Linked DNA regions of Homo sapiens: regions 1, 2, 3 and 4 are each linked to region 5. Evidence: promoter capture Hi-C in 16 types of primary human blood cells and fetal thymus (Javierre and others, 2016). All regions are on one chromosome and are shown on one strand. Each heading gives the region's core, a stretch centred on a gene start or on the middle of the fragment in contact. The rest is flanking DNA. Distances are from core to core; before and after follow the strand shown. Region 1 overlaps WDR7 (WD repeat domain 7). Region 2 overlaps WDR7 (WD repeat domain 7). Region 3 overlaps WDR7 (WD repeat domain 7). Region 4 overlaps WDR7 (WD repeat domain 7). Region 5 holds the start of FECH (ferrochelatase).

Region 1 (2,700 bases), core at 34-2,533, 860 kb before region 5:
TTACAAATGAGGCCTTACTGATAGACAAAGTTACTGTTCTAGTGAGTTTTCTAGAAGGAAATGACAAATAGGCCCTAACTGTAGGGGTACTGGAAGAGGTTATTGTTATAATCAGTTTAGTGTAATTAAGCCCAATTTAGATAAAATACAGCATGTAATATTGAAATTACATGCTGAAGATTTGGGTAAACAATCAGTCAATATGACATTCAAGATAAATGCTATAGAGAAGCTGGATTTATTTTGGATTTCAACCATAATGGGAGGCATACATTGTTTTTTTCCTCCTTGCTGTTCATGCTGTAGCTAGTGATACAAAGTTCCCTGGGGAGTCAGTAAGGTACATCCTGGAGGTATTGACATTATTTATTTATTAAATTTATTTATTTATTAAATAAATAAAAAATGAAGCTAGAAAAAATCAGATTCAGCCAGGGTTTGATGTATGAAATGTATTTAAACTCTGAGGAGATACTTGATCTCTCTTGTTAGTGTTTCAGGAATGTATTTTTCCAAATGCAGCCATACCACATTAACCCTGTTTTGCATATTGGGCAATTTTCTAGTTATTGTTTTGAGTTATACTGATGTTTCTAGTGTAAAACACTTGAAGTGTCTTTCCTTTATACGTTTATGCAGCATGTTTAAACATTTTTTTCCTTCAAATGAGTACTTTGTGTTTTCAGTTTATAGTTCCCTGTGAAATCCAGTCAAAGCTAGTAATACAAAATGTAGAGAGCTGGAGTTCTAGAATCTTTTGTTCTTTTATTGTGACATTTTCTTATATGTAATAGCAATGTAATAGTGATGTAATGGCCATGGAAATTATTCTTTCACATCTCTAAATAGTTAAAAAACTACCCAAACACTAGCAACAAGATTTAGCCAGATGAACCTCTTGCTTCCCTCTTACGAAGTTATTAAAGGTGGGTCACTGACCTAGGTGGTTTCTGTGGAGCTGTTGATGTGCTTCTGGGATCAACCGTCTCGTTCTTCACATTTCATATTCCCAGTAAGTATGCAGTGCCATTCTCACAGGCCTTTGACAAGGTCAGAATCCTGTCTGTTTGGGAAACAGGCATGCTGAAAGTAATGACTGATGTTACAAAATGTTCTTCTTATCTAGCCATTACCAAGCCTAAACCACATTCTCATCTGGCTTCTTTTTATCATTCTTGCTACACAACAAAAGTGATTCCCACATCATATTTCTATTCCTTATGTATAATTATTAGATGTTCTTATACAAATGCAAACACCATTAATGCTTGACAAATATCATCAGAAATTAGTGTATGAGGACTTGTGAATTTATTTGTTCTGTGATGTTTCTTTTTATGTTCTGCACTCCATGTTTTCTGATATTTCTCTTTTTGCATGTACTTCATGAAATATGCATTTGAGTCATCTTTTTGAACTTAAGTACCTAATAAAATCTAGCAGGGAATTATGAATTAATGTATATTTGTATGTCTTTTGAAAAACATATATAAAACATGGCTAACAAAAAGCATGTGTTTCAGGGGCTCAGATTGTCATACAAGTAAAGTCTTAGTGACTGTTATTCTTCCTTAAGACTAATTTTTGAAAACGTTTTTCATGCTTTTATTTTGATACATTTAAATTGATGTTTTTCTCTTGTTACTAAAATTGCTGAAGAGAATCAGGAGGTAGTGTTGAAGTTCAGTCCTTTGTTATTAGTGGAGGGTTTTAGTAGCAAGTGTTTTCTTCACGTATTTGACCCTTTGCCAGTAGTATCTAATACAGTGGAAATTAGATCTTACATTTGTATTTCACTATATATTGCCATTACATCATCAGCTTTTCTGTACATTTTTGCTTTTCATTCTGTTACAAAACATGCTATAGGACAGGGGAAGACACAGAGAATGAATGGGTTAAGAAAAAGAGGTAATTGACTATAACCTTGGTAAAACCAAGTATAATCAGAGAGTTTCTTTTTTCTCTTTTAATGATTGACTTTATGAAATCTTACATATTTACCTACCTCTGTAGTTACCATTTTCATTGCTTCCCTTTTTGAAGGAAGGGGTTGTTAGAGTGGAGATATGACTGTGCTTACTACTCCCTCCTCTCACAACCCCTCCATGCAATTAATCACTAAGTCTTTCCCATTAGGTATCCCTCAACTACTTTTTTATTATTTCCAGTGTACCATTGTAATTTATGGCCATATTTTTCCATACCTAGGCTATCTTTATTGGGTACCCTGCCTACTCTTTCTACCTTCTAATTCATCCTTTACTCTGCCGGGAAATTAATCTTAGGAAAGAAAACACTGACAACACTTGCTTCATATTAATGTCTTAATGAATAAACCATAAACAATATTAGTTCATAAAGCCTTCAAGACAAGGTCTTCCATAGTGTGGTACTTTCCTACCTTCTGTCTTTACCTCTTACTGTTCTTTTACACAGACCAGTTGCTCTAGTCAATAATAATTGGGTCACTCCCAATTCTTCTTGCTAGTGTCATCCATATTGTTTTCGTGATTTTCACTCACTTGGAACATTGCTTTTTTCTTTCCTTTTTTTTTTTGTTTAAAACAAACAAAAGTATCTATGATATTTTAAGGAAATTTGAGTAATAAGAATGCAGTCTTGCATATTTACTTATGTAGTCACCATTTCCATTGCTCTTTATTGCTTTGTGTAGATATAGATTTTGCCTGGAGTCAT
Region 2 (2,700 bases), core at 13-2,512, 840 kb before region 5:
AGAATGCAGTGCCATCTAACAGGCTAATTTGGGAGTAGGGATTAAGTTATGACTTAACAATAGGATTCATACATGCCTTATGAATGTGTTTTGGAAAATTATAGTTTAAAATATTGTTGATGCAAGTACAAATCCCCAAACTAAATGATGAACCTAATAGGAACTTGCAATTTGAAAGCAAGATAACAGCATTTGAAAGCCCACACTTACGATGCACAGAATATCAAGGCATCCCTTATGTGACACTGTCCAGTGTTCATATGCAGTAAAATATTTGTACCATTACTCTACGGTTCATAATAGTGTGACATCTAATTAGAATGCTGAAAGTCTCCAGAACAGCACGCCCCAACCTTTTTGGCACCAGGGACTGGTTTCGTGGAAGACGGTTTTTCCATGGCCTGGGGTAGATGGTTTCGGGATGAAACTGGCGTTAGAGTCTCATAAGGAACGCACACTGTAAATCCCTTGCATACACAGTTCACAATAGGGTTTTCACTCCTATGAGAAGCTAATGCCACTGCTGATATGACAGGAGGTGGAGCTCAGGTGGTAATGCTCACTTGCCCGCCGCTCAGCTCCTGCTGTAGGACCCCGTTCCTAACAAGCCATGAACCTGTGGACCAGTACCAGTTCTTGGCCTGAAGGTTGGGGACCCTTGTTCTAGAAAATTAGTCACATGCTAATTTAAGTTTATAAATAGCAAAATATAAAAATAGCACTTGTAGCATAATGAGCAAAAGTAACCTTAGTAACTCACTTTACTAAATGACCCTATGCTTAACATTGTGTCATTTGCCCTCCTACTTTGAATCCTTTTACATCCCATAAAGAAGCCCCTTGACCTCCAACAACTGCAGACCCTAAGTTGAAAATCACTGACCTATATGGATGTTGAACTTTCCTAGGACAATGGTTGGCCAGCAAGTGTGTGAGTCAGGGACAATGATTTCAAGGTTTAAACATTTTTTTCCAGTGTGAATCTTGTAAGATGATTTATATGACATGGTATTGCAGGCCCTAAAATTAACCTTGAATAGAAATATATTTGTCAGTTATCTCAGGGAGACAGTTTACTGCATTGTCCAAGTATAGGAAGTATAACTGGTACATAGTGGTTGTGACTGAAATTCTATATGATGCTGTCAGTTGAGTACAACAGGTAAAATATCCAAAGATCTGTTAATGTCTTCCACTGATCTCTCTCTTATTTTGTATTAAAATACTTATTTTTCCTAATTACATTCACACCTCAATCACAATCACACTAAGCAGCAATCAGCTCTGGTAAAAGTGATATTTTCTCAGGCAAATAGATGGGTAGAAAGGACGGGGTAGGAAAAAGGATGGGAATGGTAAAAGGGGAGCAGATTTATCAGCATAGCCCAGGATTTTAGGTTGTTACAGTGTAATGTTACTTGGTTTTTAGTCTCCTTCACTTCTATTTCAGTAAGTGTAGTACTTGCTATATGCTTGTGCCACCCTTCACCTGGCTAACTCCTACTCATCTCATGAGCATGAGTTCTGTGACCTCTGTCCCTGCAAAGGCTACCTGAATTTTTCAAGTATAATACAGCCAGATCAGACAGGGGCAGTTGGGTCTTCCTCTCTGATCCTCTGGCACTTGGATTATATTGCTATCCTAGTACTTATTCTATTGTACTAGTATAAGTAAGCAGGTAGATGTATTTGTTTCCATCTCTATTTCTCTGTATCAGAGTTTCTCAACCTCAACACTATTGTCATTTTTGGCTTGATAATTTTTTCTTGTGGAATCCTGTGCAGTATTTTTAGCACCATCCCTAGCCTCTACCCACTAGATGCTATTAGCACCCTTCCAAGTCGTCACTAGCAAAGTGTCTCCAGACATTACCAAGTGTCCGTTGGGAGTGAGGGGAGAATTACCCCTGCTCAAAACCACTGCTCTATATCAGACAAAGAGCTTCTCAGAGGACCACACCATATTGCTTCTTGTATTTCCAGTGCTCAGCACAGTGTTCATTGAATCACTAAATAACCCAGGATTTGAAGGTTCACTAATGTGGAGTGGATTCAGTCTTTCCTCTACCACCTCCCTTCTCTCTCAAATCTCTACAGAATGAATGTTGAGAGTCCCCTGATAGCTAGAATTATTCAAAACATGGAGGAAGTGGTGGGCAGATAGAGGAGGAACCTGACTTCCTCCTGTATTGTCACCATTGACTTGCTGTGTGACCTTAGGTGACTGACTGACTTATCTCTCATCTTCAACTTGGTTTTAGTTTTAAAATTGGTATAATAGGGTTGTAATGAAGTTAAATGGGATAACAGATTTGAAAACATTCATCACAATAGTTGTTCAACATACATAGTTTAATACTCTTGATTGATTGATTCATGCATTCATTCAGCACATATTGAATGCATACTCTAAGCTAGGCCCCAAGCTACAACCAGCTGGAGAGGGCATCAGTTACACCCACACCCAGTGGGCCCTGGCATTGGGGAGTTCCTACCTGATGTGGGAGAAAAGTGCGTAGTTCATTGTGTTGAGCCTTTTACTACCTAAGGTATGAACCAAGTGAGAGAGAACCCCAAGAGCCAAACTGACCTGAAGGGTTGTTGGGAAGGCTTTTCAGAAGAGAGAGGCTTGACATTAGGAGGACGGTGGGGAAGAACACCCCAGGCAAAGGGAGCAGCCTGTGCAGATGCAGGTGGGCA
Region 3 (2,700 bases), core at 197-2,696, 820 kb before region 5:
TGTACAACATGATGTTTTGATACATGTGTACATTGTGGAATGGCTAAATCTAGCTAATTAACATATCTATGACCTCATATATGTATCATTTTATGTGTGTTGAGAACACTTAAAATTACTCCCTCAGCAATTTTTAAGTATATAATACATTGTTACTAACTATAGTCTCCATGTTATACAATGTGAATCCTTTTGAATTTATTGAGACTTGTTTTATGGCCCAAAATATAGTCTGTCTTGGTAAATATACTGTGTGTACTTCAGAAGAATGTGTATTCTGCTGTTGTTGGGTGGAATATTTTATAACTGTCAGTCAGGTCAAGTTGCCCGTGTTCAAGTTTAGTATATACTTGCTGATTTTTCTGCCTGCTTGCCTTTATCAATTAAATAAGAGTATTGAATCTGCAGCTATAATTATGGGTTTGTTTATTCCTTCTTGCATTTCTATCCCAGTTTTTGCTTCATGTATTTTGAAGCTCTCTTATTAGGTGCATAAACCTTTGGAATTTTTATTTCTTCTTGATTATTTGACCCTCGTCATTATGAAATGACCTTCTTTATCCTTGGTAATGTCCTTTGCTTTGAAATTTACTTTGTTTATAATAATACAGTAATTTCAGCATTTTTGGCTACTGTTAACATAGTATAATCTTTTCTCATCCTTTTACTTTTTACCTATTTGGCTCTTTATATTTAAGATGTGTTTCTTGTGGGCAGCATATAGTGGGTCTTATTTTTTAATCCAATCTGACCTGCTTTTTACTTGAGATGCATAAGCCGTTTACATTTAATGTGATTGTTGATATGGTTAGGTTTGAATCTGTTATCCTACTACCTTATTTTTCTCTTCGTTGCATTTATTTTTTGTTCTTTTTCTTTTTCTGCTGTCTTTTAGACTAAAAAGATTTTTTTTATGATTCCATTTGATCTCCTTTATGGCTTTATAAGCTAATTTTTATTATTTTAGTAGTTTTTTTAGAGTCTGTAGTCTATGTCTTTCCGTTATCACAGTGTACATTCAAGTGCTATTATACTATTTAACATTTAATATAAATGTTAAACCTTATAATATTATATTAGCATTTCTCATCTCCTGGTCTTTATGCTACTGTTGTCCTGCATTTTACTTTTATATATGTTATAAACCTCACAAATTATTCTTGTGATTTGTGTTTAACAGTAATTATATTTTAAAGAGACTGAAATAAGAAAAAATACATATTTACCCACGTAGTTACCTTTTTTGGTATTCTACATTCCTTTGTGTAGATCAAGACTTCTATCTGGTAAAATTCTTCTAACAAAAGGACTTACTTTAAGCTTTCTTTTTATGTATGTATATATGTATGTATGTATGTATCTATCTATCTATTTATTTATTTATTTAAGTTCTGGGATCCATGTGCTGAACGTGCAGGTTTGCTACATGGATACACATGTGCCATGTTGTTTTGCTGTACCTATCAAGCTGTCATCTAGGTTTTAAGCCCTGCATGCTAATCTTTCTTTTAGTGAGCGTCTGCTCTTCAAGTTTTTGTACATTTGAAAACATCTTTGTTTGTCTTTGTTTTTGAAAGCTTTTTTTTTTTTCTGGTATAGAATTCCAGGTTGACTTTTTATATCTTTTAATGCTTTGAAGATGATATTCTGTTGTCTTCTTGTTTGCATTAGTTCTAACAAGATCTGATAGCATTCTTATCTTTGTTCCTCTGACTGTAACATTACTTTATTAATCTTGTTGCTTTTAAGATTTTCCGTTTATCACTGGTTTTGAGCAGTTTGATTGTGTGGTTCTTCAGTGTAGTGTTCTTCATGTTTCTTGTGGTTGGGGTTCATTGAGTTTATTAATTTTGAAAAATTTTCAATAATTATTTCTTCAAATATTCATTCTGCCCTTTCCTCCCTCCTCTCTCTAAGGGACTGAAATTACATGTACGTTAGGCTGATTGAAGTTGTTTCACCTATCACGGTGCTCTTTTATTTCGGGATTATTTTTCCTCTCTGTGTTTTGATTGAGATAGTTTCCATTGCAATGTCTTCAAGTTTATTAGTCTTTTCTCAGCAATGTGTAATATGCCATTGGTCCCATCCAGTGCACTTTAAAAATTTATTTTTATTTTTTTTTATAGAGACAGTGTCTCGCTATGTTGCCTAGGTTGGTCTTGAACCCCCAGGCTGCAGCAATTTTCCCTGTTTGGCCCCCTCAAAGTGCTGGGATTGCAGGCATGAGTGACCATGCCCAGCTGTCATCCAATTCACTTTTAATCTCAGACATTGTTATATGTGTCCCCAGAATTTTGATTTGGGTCTTAAAATTTTTTTTCCTTGTCTCTACCTAACTGCTTTGAATACATGGATTGCAGTTATAATAAATGTTTTAACACCCTTCACTGATAATTTTGATAGCTCTGTCAGTTCTGGGTTGGTTTAAATTAATTATTCTCCTCCTTGTGGACTGTGCTTTCCTGCCTCTTTGCGTGTTTGATAATCTTAGAATAGATGGGAGATGTTTGAATTTTGCCTGTTTGGGTGCTGGACACTTTTGTGTTCTTAAAAATCTTGAGCTTTGTTGTGGGATGCAGTTATGTCATGTGGAAACAGTTTCTTTTTTTTCCTGGTCTTGCTTTTATGACTTGTTAGGTGGATTTGGAGCAGTGCTCTAAGATGAATTACTCCCTATTACTGAGGCCAAACCTTCCA
Region 4 (2,700 bases), core at 44-2,543, 800 kb before region 5:
CCGGTCGTGGTGGCATACGCCTGTAGTCCTAGCTACTTGGGAGGCTGAGGCCCAAGTATTACTGGAGCCCGGGAGGTGGAAGTTGCAGTGAGCCGAGATCACGCCATGGCACTCCAGCCTGGTCAACAGGGCAACACTTGGTCTCAGAAAAAGTTAATAAATTGGTACAGCACTTAATAATTGACTAGCTTTTTTGACTTCATGCCTGTGGCATTTTTGCCAAAATAACACTAAATTAAAACTGCAAAATAAAATTTGTATGCTACATTGAAAGAAAAATATATAATTTTGAAAAATGATTTCCTCTATAAAACTAAAATAAGTTATGCCTTTATACAGGAATATTTATTTGTCAAAAACATTGTTTAAGCATGTCTTAGGTATACGTGAATCATGTTAACTTATACGTATTTGTTTGTATAAATAGTATCTACTTAGCATATATAATATAAAGAAATTAAATAGATAAGGTTAACTTCAAGCTAAAAAAACAATAGCTCTCACAGTGGCTTAACAATAATGTTAATATAGAAATTTTAAAAGTAAAATGCTACATTAAAGTTCAAAAATGCTTTGGAAAATGCAGTTTTAAAGTTCAAGAATGCTTTGGAAAATGCAGTGATTAAATTGTTGAAACCTAATTCTTTCCATTAGTGTTAAAATAGTTTTCAGTGAAATCATTAATTAAAATATCTTTGATGATTTGCTAGCATCTGATTTTTAAGTAGTTAACTCATTCGGTTAATAGTGTTTTTCATGTAAATAAATATGGTTTTTATGTTTTCTAGCCTTATTTCATTATAAATTTTCTAGTTTATGAATATTCACCTCCTCAACTAATCTGCTTTCTGCTTTTACATTTGGGTCTGTGGTCTTAGGTGAGAGAAGCCGCGCAGGCCCTGCTTCTGGCGGAACTGAGAAGAATTGAGCAGGCAGGCAGGAAGGAAGCCATTGATGCCTGGGCTCCTTACTTACCTCAGTACATAGACCACGTCATATCACGTAAGAGTTCTCATGCTTCTCTACAAAGCTTTGCAGGAATATGTAGAAAAGGTACCTGTACTCACAAATATATATGCTACTACCCATCAACAAAAATGAGTCACTGACCTTAAAGTGAAAAGAACAGATCCTCAAATTCACTTTATTATTTTCTGAATCTCTGTAGTTTGGAACTTGCTTTAAAAAACAAAAGGCAAAGGCTGTCTATATCAAAATATTCATTAATGAACTGACTTTTATAAATGAATTCCCCATCAAACATCCTACTCTAGTACTAACATGTGCCTCCGCCCATTGCATTATTATGCTTATGGATGCCAGCTTGTTCGATATGGATCTGATGATATGCAAGTGCAGATACAAGGCAAACTCTCTTGCTAGTTAAAGTTGGGATTGTGAATCCTTAGAAAAACAAAGATCTGATAGAGTTAGACTCAGGCAATATTTACAAAGAGAAAATTGGGAAGGATTTTGATGGATAAATCTTTCAAAAGAGTATAATTTGAAAGGATTAGAAAAATTGTTGAAATTTTTTGAATATTCTTTTGCAAAATAAAAGCTTTATAATTATGTTGCTACATTGAATGTGCATTGGAAAAGAGTTGTATTTTGCTATCATAATGAGCATACTCATTCCCAGTTCATCATTTGGTTGGTTTTGTATTTTTGTTTGGTTTGTTTTATATTTTTCTAAAAACAGTTTAGTTACTAAATAATTTTTTTAAGGTCCCTCAGTTACTAAGTGACTAAATTATAATCAATATAATTGAGTCAAATAAAATTTTAATTTTGCTCTTAATTATATTGATTAAAAAATTTTACCCTAAATTATATTGAATTAAAATTAAAATTTTACCCTAAATTATATTCATTGTAAGATAAATTTTCAGTTTTGCAAGATAAAGTGTGAGTGAAACTTTAAAAAAAACTTTTTATTATGAAAATTTGGCCTGGGTTTTAGGTGGACTCATTTTAAATGACCTTTTGCCAATACCAGTTATTCTTTGTAATGAAATACTCATTACACATGTCAAGATGGACAGTACATTATTATACAAGAAGGAAAATGAAAACAAAATTCAGAAAGGTTTATAACTTTTATATCTGGTTTAAACTCTACCAGATCTTTGCCAGTGGTGACTCTAGTGGATGTTTAATCAAGCATGTGACCTTGGGCACTTTTCTTAAGCTTTCTTAGTCTCAGTTTTATCGCAGATGAAATAAAGATGATAATAGGACTTTATAGGGTTATTATGTGTGTGGCATGAGTTAATCTTTGTTAAGTGCGTAGAACAATTCCTAGCCCATAGTAAGCATAATACTTTTGTTAAATACTTTATAATCTATAAAAATGCAAATATTTATTTCACTTATAGCCGAAGTATCACACATTAACAGCTCCAGTGAAAATTCTTAATTGTTTGAGCAATAAAATATTTACTTAGTGAATATAGGTTATCATTTGCTTTCTGGAAATTTTTCTATTTTAATAAAGCAAATTAAGTTAAAAAAAAAAACAAGGCATCTAGACATATAGACTCTAAGTTATTAGGCTTAAGATTGTTTTAAAAATATGTGCAGATTTTCAAATTTCCAGAATATAAAAAAGAGTTTCAAAAAAATAAAATTGGGATGAAAAGAACTTTGTCTTTGAGTAGATGAGAAGGTAGTCCGGAAAAAGTGTTCTTTGTTCATAAT
Region 5 (2,700 bases), core at 174-2,673:
AACTATGCCTTCAAATCAAAGTCTGTAACACAAATAAGACTCCAAATCTACTTCTGCTAGCGTTTCTGAATCTTTCCACTTTTAACCTAGACTACAAATAATTTAAAGTTTCACATATTGTTCCACGACCTCAAATCTAGGACCTGTCAGACTTTATTTGCCACAGGAAAGGTCAGTGAAAGAAAAGATTAGTTCAATACTTCTTTCAGCCCCACGACTGGCACTGTGCTGCCTCTTCTTAAAAAACAATGCCCTTTGTCCCCCAGCGCCCTTAGTGAGCTAGCCTCATTGTACACTGGGTCCTTAGTATTTTCCTAACAAAGGCACGTCTAATGAGATATGGAGGTTCAGAGGGGATTCCCTCCACTCCAAGTAGGTGTCAGACTGACGAACGTCTTAGAAAAATATGTCCGGTCTGTGTCCAGTCACCGTTCGGATGCATTGAATAAGCATCTTATTCGTGGCAGCCTTCTGCATGAATGGCTAGACATCTTGAGGATGCCTGTGTACTACTGTGTGCCAGGCAAGGTGCTCATGTTCAAGGCAAGCCTTAAAAAAAAAATTAGGATTTCAATGTACATTTACCAAAGCTCTGGCGAGGTTAGGTGCCTTGTTCAAGGTGTCACAGTTGGAAATGCTGTCCCAGCCAGGTGTGTGAGATCCACAGTCCCATCAGCTCATCCTGTGGTCACAACCTATTCACGGTTTGCATCAGAAACGTGGGAGGCTGTTCCTGGGTCTTACAAGTTCCCCAGATATCTCTAGAAAACGCTAGCCCAGGCTGCCCCACGGGGGGTCCCGCTGCTAAGGAGAAGTGGGCACAGAGGGACCAAGGACCATGGGCTTTCCTCAGCAGGGAGGGAACTGCAGGGCAGATGTCCATGGTGGTGATGATGAAGATGCCTTCCTTACTATCCTCTATGGCAGGCCCATAACATACCTTCCCTCGCGTAATCTTCTCAACAGCCTGGTTATTGCAGGTGACAATAACCAAGGCTCTGGGAAATTCCAGCCACTGCTCCAAGCCACCCAGCCGACCGATGGGACTTGAACCTGCGCCTCCTGGATCCGGGCGCCCTCCCCGCGGCCTCCCGAGCCCTGAGTGCTGCCCTCAGCCCTCCCTTCTCCGCGACGCCCCTCGCCCGGTTGCTCGCAGCACCCCCAAGGCCGCTCCCCGAATCCCCCGGGCGCGAGGGCCCGGGCGCCAGCTGCCCGCTCTGCCCACGCCTTCTCAGGGATCCTGGCCCTGGCGGCCGCCGCGACAGACCCACTTACGCGGATCGCGGAGCAGGACGCCCGCGGCGCGCAGGGCCGCAGCCATGTTTGCGCCGAGTGAACGCATTGCCTGGGCAGCCTCGGCCCGAGTCCGGGCTCCTCCCGCGGCGGCGCGCCCAGGTGTCCGCCCAGCAGTGGCCGAGCCGGGTAGCGATCCCCACGCGCGTCCCCAGCCCCCTGACCTCGCGCCCTCCCGGCGCGCCCGCTCATTCGCTGCCGGGCCGGGGCGGGCGAGGCCAGGCAGAGACACGCCCCTCGCGGAGAGCCCGCCCCAGCTGGGCGCCGCTCCCTGCGTGAAAATGGGCCCGGGGGCTGAGCTAGAAGCCCGCTCCCCACCACCATCGCAGGTCACTGCAAAACCTGCTGGACTCCTAGTTGCGTGCCCTGTTTGCATCTGCCAAACTAGCGAAGTCAGGATCCTCAGCCATGACTCAGCAAATAACTTTTTTCGACGTTTCCATTACTATTATTTAGATATAAGGATGCTTTTGCCTCAGTTCTCCAGTTTGCCTGCCTAGTCACAACACAAGTGTGCAGATCCTGTTTTGTTTTGCTTTATTTTCAGAATAGAAAAAGGGATTATTCAGTTTCTCTGCACCCTCTCTGTGTAGCAGAATTTGACAGGTGAAACTCACTGAAGAGCATTAGGAAAAGTGAAGGCCAGCCTGGCAAGTGCATTTCTTGGAGGGACGGTATGATGAGGTTTGTCTGTATCATATCCGCGCACCTTCCCAGTTTAGCCGCCCGTCCCGCCCCCAAGGTCGCACACTGAGATCACTGGGAGGAACAGGCGCCCATTTCATTCCTACACCTCCGTCAGCCCACCCTGCCTATATATGTTCAGTGCATTGTGGAGTAGGAAACCAGCCCTTGGTACAGAAAGGTCTCAGGCATCGGTATTCATTGAACAAATATTGAGCACCTACTATGTGCACTGGGAAAACAGTAGTGAAAAGAGTAGACGGGGGCTTACATGGGGTTAGGGGAGACACAGAAAATAATCACAACATGTAATACTTTGAATGATGGAGCCCTTCCACGGCCTCCCCTCTTCTTTTTCCCTCTCAGGACAAAAGAAGAATGAAGCAAGGTAAAAGAGATGGGGTAGGGTGGGGGAAGGGACTAATGCAATTTGAAGCAGGTGGGTCAGAGTCTCACACATTCGAGCAAAGGCCTTATACACATTTGAGCAAAGGGGGCAAGCCATATGGAACATTCAGGGAAGATGGAGTCTAGATTCAGCTGAAACCCAGTTTTCTGTAGCTTAAATATGTGCTACTGATGGAATTAGTTTATTTCTTATTAAAGTTGGTCCTCCTGATGGTTATAAGCCCAATGCAAAATGTCAAATTAAATGGATAGCCTTTCATATTACCTACATGATCTTCATATCCAAGCGGATGTCCTGAGAAAAGCACAGTAAAA

The links. The method cuts DNA at HindIII sites, captures the fragments that hold promoters and counts their contacts. A CHiCAGO score of 5 or more calls a contact.
Region 1: a contact is called between a fragment that was not itself captured here and the fragment with the promoter of FECH in region 5, in 2 of 17 cell types (megakaryocytes and naive CD8 T cells). The highest score is 7.8, in megakaryocytes.
Region 2: a fragment that was not itself captured here is called in contact with the fragment with the promoter of FECH in region 5 in 12 of 17 cell types (total CD4 T cells, megakaryocytes, naive CD4 T cells and 9 more); the score reaches 11.5 in total CD4 T cells.
Region 3: a contact is called between a fragment that was not itself captured here and the fragment with the promoter of FECH in region 5, in 8 of 17 cell types (naive CD4 T cells, fetal thymus, naive CD8 T cells and 5 more). The highest score is 9.2, in naive CD4 T cells.
Region 4: a fragment that was not itself captured here is called in contact with the fragment with the promoter of FECH in region 5 in 2 of 17 cell types (megakaryocytes and naive CD4 T cells); the score reaches 5.5 in megakaryocytes.

Annotation. Positions count from the first base shown.
Region 1 is chr18:56,720,658-56,723,357 of GRCh38, forward strand. All of the region lies in intron 13 of WDR7 (WD repeat domain 7), which reads left to right. Among named protein-coding and RNA genes, the nearest start is that of WDR7, 71 kb to the left of the region's middle. The HindIII fragment of the contact is 3,970 bases long and covers 1-2,700 here.
Region 2 is chr18:56,745,049-56,747,748 of GRCh38, forward strand. All of the region lies in intron 14 of WDR7 (WD repeat domain 7), which reads left to right. Among named protein-coding and RNA genes, the nearest start is that of WDR7, 95 kb to the left of the region's middle. The HindIII fragment of the contact is 6,804 bases long and covers 1-2,700 here.
Region 3 is chr18:56,764,446-56,767,145 of GRCh38, forward strand. All of the region lies in intron 16 of WDR7 (WD repeat domain 7), which reads left to right. Among named protein-coding and RNA genes, the nearest start is that of WDR7, 110 kb to the left of the region's middle. The HindIII fragment of the contact is 257 bases long and covers 1,319-1,575 here.
Region 4 is chr18:56,780,655-56,783,354 of GRCh38, forward strand. It overlaps WDR7 (WD repeat domain 7), which reads left to right. Exons shown (of 28, transcript NM_015285.3): 19 at 879-1,002. Among named protein-coding and RNA genes, the nearest start is that of WDR7, 130 kb to the left of the region's middle. The HindIII fragment of the contact is 531 bases long and covers 1,029-1,559 here.
Region 5 is chr18:57,585,279-57,587,978 of GRCh38, forward strand. FECH (ferrochelatase) reads right to left here and starts at 1,424. Exons shown (of 11, transcript NM_000140.5): 1 at 1,276-1,424. The coding sequence starts at 1,342. RefSeq lists silencers at 1,116-1,165, 1,176-1,235, 1,246-1,605. The HindIII fragment of the contact is 11,690 bases long and covers 1-2,700 here.